Linked DNA regions of Homo sapiens: region 2 is linked to region 1. Evidence: promoter capture Hi-C in human tissues and cell types (Jung and others, 2019). All regions are on one chromosome and are shown on one strand. Each heading gives the region's core, a stretch centred on a gene start or on the middle of the fragment in contact. The rest is flanking DNA. Distances are from core to core; before and after follow the strand shown. Region 1 holds the start of VWA5A (von Willebrand factor A domain containing 5A). Region 2 has its middle 29 kb from the start of OR10D3.

Region 1 (5,136 bases), core at 196-2,695:
ACCTTGTGGCTTTTCTTTTGGGACCCAAAATTAAAAGATACGAGTATATTTGTTTGTATCCATCCAAGATATTCTAATATATTTAAATATTATATAGGCACATAGCCTACATTTGCACCCCCACTAAACAGCACCAATAAATCAGGCTTTTCATTCCATATCTGTTTTTATTTTGAGAAATTGGATAAAAACTGAGTGTGGCAAAATGACTCACAATTCGACAGCAACGCAGAGGACAGTGGCAGGTGTGAGGAGAGGAGAGGATGCTCAGAAAAGGGCTTCTACGCAGACCTCTGACCTGGGCAAGTTCTCTGGTAGAACAGGCTGGGCTGGGGGAGGGAAGAATTTCTAATAACACATTAAGCAGAGAGCCTAAAGCAGGAGACTCACACAGGAGTAAAACAGCTGAAAGAGAAGCTCTCAGGCTGGGCAATACTCACCAAGGTGGCTAGAGTAAAAGAGAGAGAGACGCAAAGGGCACCCCTACAAGGAAATAGCCTTCGCTTCCTGATTCTAAGCTCAGAACAAATCCTCCGTTGAGGAAAACTTGCTATTCTGCACCCTTGCCCCCACTCTTCCCAGTACAAACAAAATTAGTTTGGGTCAGAATTAGTTCTGTCTCTCAGGATGGCACTTCAGAAAGGCAACTTGCAAGGCTTAGGTAGAGACTGGCCACCAAGCTGAAAGCCATGAATCTGAGGCAGCTGGGAGAATACAAGGCTTCCGGCCTAGCCAGGTAGCTGCTTCAGGAATGCAGAGTCCCAGCACCAGCCGCTCAGCAGCTAGGAGGGTGGGAGGGGAGCTGGGTGGCACCACCGGCCACACACACCCCTGCGGCCTGTGGCAGGGGTGAAGTGGAGAACTCGGAACCAGACAAGGAGGAGATTTGGGGTAAGAAGTGGGGCTTGGATAAAATCAGAGATTGATTTAACCTTTCCATTCAGTCCTAGATTTCCAATGTCCACGTATTTACAGAAGAGACTGCGTCGGTCTCTTACATTTCTATAGAGAAGGGCTTAGGGGCTGCAACTGATTGGAGTAGATGAGGCTTACAGCCTCATTTCCTCAGCTTACACTATCCTGAAACTGAGAAAACATCAATTGTCTATATCAAAGAAAGAAAGCGGGAAAAAAAGTAAAGTAAAAGAGAAGGAAAGTAGGAAGAAGGGCCTTGAGATTAGGAGATGGCTAAATCCCTCCTTCAACCTCCAAAAGATTCCCCTAAACTGCCAAACTTGCAGGAACCTTCCTGGGGATCATACATCAGGATGAAATCCTCCACCCATGGGGCGTGCAATTCAAGGAGCCCCTACAAATTTGGGGACTGGGGAAAGGGAGCTAGAATGTGGAGCTCTCAGTCTTCCAGAGCAGGGGTTGGATCCAGGCCCTGCACCGGTAGCTTGGTCCCCTACCTTCCTCTCCTGCAGCCCGGAGCGCTCTGAGTCACAGCGGAGTGAAAACAGCTGCAGTCATAATTTCCGGAAAGAACCGCCCCCTTCTAGGGACCGGTTATAAAGTAGCGACTACAAGACTAAGGGATCAACGGAAAATTATTGAACAAATAATCGAACTTTCGCTTGTTTGTATCAAAGGAAAAGTCTTCGACTTTGGAACGTTTGGTTTTTTTCTTTGCTCTTTGCTAAGGAACAATCAGAGAACAGGCAAAGAGGGCAAGGGAAAATGCTGCAACAGGAACAACAACAATGACATTAAAAACTGCATATTTTTGTAAAAGCTTAATTGCCAAAGGCTTACTGTGTCCTGGGCCCTGTTAATCAAAGCTTTATGGAGATTATATCATTGACACCTTATCTCTAATGTGAGTCATTTTCCCCCAAGTTGCCCCTCCCCTACAGCAGGGGGAAAGATAAGGAGATAGTGCAAGGCACACACATCTGCTCTAATGAGAGAAGCTCTAGCCAGGGAAGCCCAAGTCTTCCTGTCATGGGTCGCTTATGGGATCCTGAAACCAAATGTTTGGGTTAACGATGTAAGTAACTGAGAATGTCTATGCTCATTTACCTGGCTAAAGGACATTAGAAGCGATCAAGGTCCCCATGGCTTCTCTATTTCAAAACAACCTATTAAATCTGAGACTTAAAGTGTCATATTGCTGTCGAGAATCTATAGGATAAAGAATACATGATACATATGGAAAACACAGCTTGATTTTGGTCTCTGTGATGTATTTTTTGTGGATATACTTGTTATATACTGGTTATATACTTGTTTTTGTGAGATATTTGTTATATACAAATAACTCTCCCCAAGTTATTTGTTCTCTCATCTGAAACGGGGATAATGACAAACCTCCACTGATTGTTTTTGTGAGATCTAATGAATCTTAGTGGCTATAAAAGTTTTATATATATATATATATATATATATATACACACACACACACACACACACACACATTTATATACTTTATATATATACACCCACATACACATTTATATACATGGATGTGCATGCATAGATGTATATATGTGTATATATGTACACCCATGCATGTATATACAGTTACATGCATGTAATATATGCATATATAGTAAAGCATAATATAAGCACAAATTCTATTTTATCAGTACTAGGCCCTACAACCATGTTTTTTACATGTACTGAACTAATTATGAGAGGAAATTATCCTTTTCTCTGGAGAGAAATCATGTCTGGTATTGTTCCTTGTGACTGTGCCTTCTTTCCATTGGCCGAAACATCTGAGCAACAAAAGGGAGGAGCTGGAAACGTGGGCAGAGTTCATCATCTGATCCTGCTGGGCTTAGAGCTTAGCACTAAAAGTCTGCCACAGACCAGGCATGCAGCGTGGTTAGAGGGCACTGAATCAGGAAACACACAGAAGTTGCTGGTTGTTGAAAAAACAACTATGTGAAAATTCCCATAACCTAGCACAATATACACAATTAAACCGATATAGATGAGATATCTTCACTTAAAAGTCTGTCTTAGTGTTGCCAGGCATTCCTCAAGGTTGATTCTCACCTTCTTTTTTATACTAACAGGAACCCCAAGTTTCACAATGTCTATGACCATTCAGAATAAAAACATTGCCTAGCCTCCCTTAAAGCTGGTGTGGCCTTGTAACTAAGCTCTGGCCCATAGGGTACAAGAAATAAGTGCAACACCATGTCATGCCCTTTCAAAGAAAAGAGGATGGCTTCCCATTCACTTTACCCTCTTCCTGCTCATTGGTGTGAATGCAGGTAACTGAACCAGCTTGAACCATAAAGACTAGATCATAAAGCCTGGAGCATTTCCCCTAAAAATGGAGAAGCAACAAGACAGAAAGATCCTGAGCCCCTGAGACTCTCATAGAGCAAGCCACTGTATCATCACAGAATTTTACAGGATAAAGTAACAAATTTCTCCATGGTTTATAACAGCTCTTTGGGTCCTTATCTTACCCTAATACATTTGATTATGATTAATTAAAAAGTAGACTTTTAAGGAAACTATCTTCTTCAGAATATGAAAAGCACATTTGCTTATAATGGAAATAGAAATCTGCATATTATGAGAACAATATCCAATTTATTTTAGCGCCCACCACTGTAACACATGTGCCCTGAATTATGCCGGTGTGTGTTGATTATGTTGATCATAGTTTGCTACTTATTTTTCTTCAGTTCTTCTGAGAGCCATTTCCCTTCCTGAAATAAAAAGGCTGTTTGTCATAGAGTGCTTAGCATTGGTTCAGAACAGGCTTTCAATAAGTCGTTTCGGTCATTGTCTCATTTCTGTTATTCTCTTTCTTCAATGTTCTCTATCATCATGGAGTTTTAAGTGTCCAGTTCTGCTTGTTCTCTCTCCTCTGATGTTTCCATAGCAATTCACCTAAAACTTCCTGCCGTTTTTATCATACTTGAGCCCTTTATGTGCTCTTAAAATTGTAAACCTTTAAGAAAGTAAGTTTTTAAAAGTCATGAAGTTATTTGTTTAATGAATAAATACATACAAATCCCAGTGGTTGTATATACGCTTAGGTCTTGTGATTGCAATCCACTATAGATACTGGAGAATAGATTTCAAAAGCTCAAATAACAAATGCTCAGACGTGCACAAATCTTATAAGCATTTATTACATATTGGTGATAACAATTATAATTAATAGGTATAATTTTCATATGATCACCGATAACTTGGAAATTAAGTGTTTGAAGATATCACAGACAACCTGGGCTCAGCAGAAACTTATCATGAATGAATGGATAGATAGAGTGAATTTAAAAATATGCATAGTACTATATATTGAGTTCCTATTTGAAACCAGTGCTAAGTGTTTTACATAGTATGTCAAACTACATTAATTACAGACAGGAATAATGTCTGTGATCACAAATCACTTAGTAGTTTGTCAGAAATTTCTTGGATGAGAGTGACCATTGCTTAAAAGTAACAATTTTCATCGATTACAAGCAAATATGCTCCTGACAAACCCAAAGCCTAGACAAATGCCAAAGGGGATAGGCAGGATGCAGCTCAAGTGTCTAAAAATCTATGAGGGCTTGTAAAGAACATATATTGCTCATCCAGAGGTTCGGAAAATTGTAGAGAAAACAAGAAACCAGGTTCTAATTTATCAGGATCTACCTCGGTCTGTCACATAATTAAGTCTATGAGCTTTAGATTCAGTCTGGGGCTTGAGTCCTACCTCTAGTTCTTAATAGTTGTATAATTGTGAGAAAGCAATTTAACTACTCCGAGTCCATGTCATCATTTGTAGAATGAACTGATAATACCTAGTCTATATGTATGTTGTAATCATTAAATGAAATAAGTTTTAAGGCATATGTCACAAGTTGGCATTCTCTAAATGTTAGTTCCACTTTCCTTTTGTTGGGTTGGCCAGCGGAATTTTGAGAATCTGGAAAACTATATGCCACTTAGATTTCCACATAGAAAGGCTACTTTCATGAAAAGGATTCTGAGATTTCTTATACTTTTTCTAAATCTGGCAACATTATTTTAGTTTTGGTTTGGTAGTTTTTTCTGCTCACCATCTTTTGGTTTTAATTACTCATCGTTAAAACAAACAAAACAAAACCACCATTGTTTTTAAAAAACCCTCATCTTAAAATTGGGAAGGAAAAGAGGAAAAGAGCAAGTGGGGGGAAA
Region 2 (5,238 bases), core at 1,544-4,043, 96 kb before region 1:
TCATTGCATATTCTATACCTTATCAGAGGAGAAACAGAATGCAGTGGTCTCCTGAGCCTCTCTTGCTACTGTTTAATAGACAATAGTCTGGTCGACCAGAGGAGGAACTGCAGACATCAAAAACATTAAAATTTAGTTCATATCCTTTTAAGAGAAAACACCAATTTTTGACCTCAATAAGAAAGCAAGCTACTAATGTTATTTCAGAGGATTCTTTTCTTTCCTACCATATTCTCTAGGATATAAATACGTCATGCACATCAAATAGCATAGCCATGAGATTTTCATTTTACTCAGATTAGGAAAGAGAACCAAATGCTCCTTATAATGTATCAATATAGAAGTCCTGGCCGGGCGCAGTGGCTCATGCCTGTAATCCCAGCACTTTGGGAAGCTGAGGTGGGAGGATCACTTGTTTGAGACAAGCCTGGGCAACAAAGCAAGACCTCATATCTATCTATCTATCTATCTATCTATCTAATCTATCTATCTAATCTATCTAAAAATAGAAGGCATGAGTTTATAAAATTAGTTATATTAGTCTGAGTTACTTTTCTTATGAGAATTTCAACTAAAAATAGCTGAAGAACTGGGTAATGACCTGTCTCATTCTGCCCGAAATTTCAGCTCTTTATTTCTCAACTTTCTTCACCCAGACCTGCTATTCTGCAAGGCAAAAACATAACTGCGTGGCTGATAGCATCCTTATACCTCAGGAGCTTTTCCAACAGTGAGGGAATTGCCTCTCTTGTTCTAATTTGAATAATCCCAAGGGAGTAATACAATGGTCTCAATGCAGGTCACCTATTATCCCATTCTGGCCAGGGGAGCAGAAAACTATGATTGGTCTACATTAAGTGTACTTCGTGGCTGAATTGGAGAAGATCAGAAAAGTACTCATATTCTCCAAAACCGAGAAGGCTTTCTGAAAACAAACATTAGATATCTTCTATACTGATCACTTTTTATAATCATATATTTTGCCTGTGCTCACTATAAAATTTAAAGATAATGGCTATGTGGATTAGTAGAGCACATGCAAAATACAATTCACAATCTTAGTCTAAATATAAAACTAGTCAACAGTGTGATGTGGATTTTCAAAAAAGGCTAATACATATTTACTTTTGCAAAGAAAATTAGTAGATTCTAGATGAAAGAAATTTATGGTCTTATGTAACACTCCAGCAATAGCTGGATTAGTGTTTTCAGTTTAGGGTTTAATATTTTATGTGGAATATAGAAAAACTGGACAATATCAGAAACATGATCTAAAAATATTGTCATTTGAATAATGACTGACATAACTGAGGTTTTAGCTAGCACAATATAAATATATGTGGCACATGGCATTTATATCCAAATGTTCAAAATATCTAAGAGGTATAGGGCTCCTTGTATATGTCTCTAAGAGAGAAAAAATAAAAACTAAGTGCTTCAAATGATGGAGAGAAATATTTGGTTTCACAACAAAAAAGAACATTCCAAAAGTCAAACACACCTTAATTTACTTATAGCCAGAAATGTCAGAGTCAGCTTGTATAACCATTTAGCAGACATTATTCAAGGACACAGCATGAGATGGGTGCTTGAATTCAATCAGCTTTAATATATCTTCTGGTTCCAATATTTCATGATTTAAAATTCTAATGGGCTATGATATTAGATCAGGCAGTCTGGGTTAAAATATCATCTCAACCATATACATGCTGTGTGATCTTGAGAAAATTACTTCTCGTCTTCAGGCCTCTAAAAAGTAGAAATGTTAATATCATTCTCATGTAAAAATCAAAAGACGCATAGTTCCCATCTGTTGGTAAGAACTTAATAAATGTCAGTGTTATTTTAACTGTAATCTATTGAGCCTTCTCTGAAATATTTTTTATTTGCTCAAATTTTTATTCCAATAATGATGGCTGAAGGTTTTTTCCCTCCCTCAGCATATCTTGTTTTTGCTCCTTCCTACATGGATACACATATTAACACAGAGATTCAGAATTATTTTTTTTACTGAACAGTAACCTCTTTAAATCAGCACTATTTTTCATTTCCTCATAGGAAGCTCAAATCAATATCTCTTATTCAAAGATTGTTATCATCTGGCAACCAAAATAAAAGTTTTCTTCTTTTATGTCCCAACAAGTACTATATGATTTGGCTATTACATGATTTGGCCATTTGGTACTCTCTCAGTTTTAACTCATGATGCCCCTTTAATTTTTCTCTTTGTCTATCATCTGTAGCCTATGACATCCTATTTAATAGTTAAGGCTCTTTAGTTAAGGGCTTTAATAGTGCAAACTCTACTTAATAAGGCCATTTAATAGTGCAAACTCTACTTAATAAGGCCATTTTCTATGTCCATACATATATTTCTTATGTTTACATGTAACACTAATTTCATTCTATGTTATTATTATTTATTTATTTGCTTTTCTTCTGTACTAGACTATAAATTCAATATAGTGCTTGGTGTAGTGCCTTGCATATAGCAACTCAATACATATATGTTCAATAAAATTGCTCAAAGAAGCTTAGAGATATGTAAATATGGATTCAAAATAACTGAATAAAAACCCTCTTACTGCCTGAATTGAAATGAGTAAACACAGAAGTGTTTGTCATAAATGTATATTGCAGAGAACAAGTAGATGACAAGGGAACCACTGCTCATCAAGGCATGTGAATGTGAGAATAAGGACAGGGAGAGACAGATGAATAGCTGTGTGCATCTCTCTTTGCACTGCGAAAGAAGCTGGAACAGGAGACTCCAAGATTTTAAAGTCAAAGACTGGGACTCATACATACCCATCCTTTCTGCCAGGGTCCAGGGTTGTACATTTTTCTTCTCCATTGCTCTGGAGGGAAAAATGAATCTGATGGTACGAGGAGGTCATAGCCCAAAAGTCTCCTTGGCAATTATTTTGAGTCATTCATCCTGATCTCTGACAAAGCTGATGCCTAAAGCCATCTGGCACTCTGCAAAGGGTGGCTGATGTGAGGATTTTATATGCTGGGTAAGAGTAAGAGTCTGATAGGGAACAAACAATGATAATGATCTCCCTCTAGATTCTATTCCCACAAATGTCAGCTCTTGGGAAAAGAAACAATTAGAATTTCCCTTTCCCCCTCTTGGTTCTCAAGTGTTTCCCTATTGGCATATGTTGTGATTCATTGTTCTTGTAATATTACAGATTGGAAATGAGGATGTGAGAGACTTTGTTGGAGCTCTAGTGAGTTTCATCTCTTTAGTGAGACAATGAAAAGTTCAAAATTTCAGCCAATTTTTAAAACATACATTAAAGGAATTGTCTAAAGTGATTTGTCACAAGGGGAAAATAGAAAATCAGAAATAACAACAAATGTTTCTAAAATTTGAAAGTTTTCATTTTCATTTACCTCTACTAATGATATTTTGATATCATGATGTATTCATAAAACAGTAATGCTTGAAATGTTTTAACTTGAGGGCTGTTTCCTTTCAGATCAATGAAGAAGAAAATGCTTTCATTCAGTCCCCAAGTTAAAATATGATAGATATTGCCAAGACCCTGAGGAGTTCCTAGTAAGCCTAACAAGGAGAGTTGATGACTTTTTTCATCAAAAAATAAGAATGATATTGAGGAACAATAAAGACATATGTGTTACAGAAGTTATTTTTGTACTTATATAAAACTAAATTATTTTGGAAGTAAAATTATATTTCATGTTTTGTTAAACGTTATATTGATGGCAAAAGTAGGCCATCCAGAACCGCCGCTACCATGGTGCCAGCTGCAGTGGGGAGGCCAGCGGTTGTGGCAGGAGAGGCTGCAGGGGCAGCAATAACGGTGGTGGGACCCCTGTCCCCCATGTCTCCAAGGCAGGCAACTGAGCCACCCCCACCTTTGCATGACCAGGTAAGACCCACCCCTAGGCCTAGAGACTCTGTGGCTCCTGACCCTGGCCCCATGTCACCACTCTTGCCTGCCACTGCTGTGGGGAGGGGCTGGGGAGGAGGCAGACAGTCTCTGGACCCCGCCCCTGGAAGCCACCTGGAGCCTGTCATGGTGGGGACCACCACGAAGGGGCTGGGCCGAGTTTCCTGGTGGGGGAGCAGCACGGTTGGGCATGGAGGCCTGGCAGAGATGGCCCCGAGGCAGAGCTGGGCCCAGCATGGTGCTGTGGTTGGAGATGGAGTGTGGAGGATGGGCCAGAGGTAACATCTGCTTTGGGGACCTGGCCAGTGGCATGGCCACCATGCCCACCTTGCTGATGGTGCCAGGTTCCTGTGCCCTGAGAAAAGGCTCTGCACTGGGGGTTGAGTCTCAGGGGTCTGCCCTGCATCTGGACAACCACCAAGCCTGACACTCCTGACCTCTAGTCCCAGGACCTGAAATCGGCTCCTAGAGGTGCCCCTGAGGCAGGGTCACAAGCTGACCAAGTGGGAGCCCTGGGCCACCCCTGAGCACCAGGGCCATGGGAAGAACTTATGTTGATGTCACTCCTGCCCTGGATGCCAGCCCAGGCCCAGCAAGGACTTGGAGCCCCTGCCCCAGGCTTAAAGGAGGCGTGGCTGGGGCTGCATGCTGCAGGGCCAAGGATAAGCAGGAGTCCGGCCCCTTCCAAGCTGGCAGGGTGGGAACTCCCTGGGTGCAGCTGCAGCCATCCTGCCATGTCTGCTGTGGCTGCAGGCCCAGGCATCTCTGCAGACTTGGGGGCCTGGGAAGGCTCCCCTGGCCCTCGGTGGGATGAGGGTGCCTGCTCCCTCTGCCTGGCTTCTCTCTGCTGTTGGTGCCAGCTCTGAGTCAGGACCAAGCCCGGGCATTGTTGTAGCCCAGCCGGGGGTGCACATGCTCAGGCAGGCTCCTGGGCAGAAGGTGGCGGGTCCTTGGTGAAGCCCTACCTCCAAGCTGGAGAGGGCCTGAAGCTTGGGGATGGGGTCACCAGTCCCACAGACCAGAGGGGGAACTTATGGTGCTTTTCCCTACGGCGACTCATGGACTAATCAGTACACGTTTTCTCCCCTCTGAGGCCCATAAAAACCCCAGAGTCGGCCAAACTGGAGCAGAGGATGGAGAGACAAAGGGAGATGATGAGATGACCAGCTGCAGAGAGGAGCTGACCACCCCAGGGTTTCCTGTCTGCTGAGAACCAAGGAGATGATAGGACGACCAGCTGCAGGGAGAAACTACCCTCTCTGCTAAGAGCTGGGCACTTGACGGGATGACCTGCCTAGCAGAGAGGAGATACCCTCTC

The links. The method cuts DNA at HindIII sites, captures the fragments that hold promoters and counts their contacts. A contact is called where the count stands out against the background at its distance.
Region 2: a contact is called between a fragment that was not itself captured here and the fragment with the promoter of VWA5A in region 1, in 2 of the 25 tissues and cell types used here (H1 embryonic stem cells and thymus).

The regions. Positions count from the first base shown.
Region 1 is chr11:124,111,759-124,116,894 of GRCh38, reverse strand. It overlaps VWA5A (von Willebrand factor A domain containing 5A), which reads right to left and starts at 1,445. Exons shown (of 19, transcript NM_001130142.2): 1 at 1,413-1,445; 2 at 215-329. The HindIII fragment of the contact is 8,575 bases long and covers 1-5,136 here.
Region 2 is chr11:124,209,441-124,214,678 of GRCh38, reverse strand. It overlaps the pseudogene OR8G3. Among named protein-coding and RNA genes, the nearest start is that of OR10D3, 29 kb to the right of the region's middle. The HindIII fragment of the contact is 4,968 bases long and covers 310-5,238 here.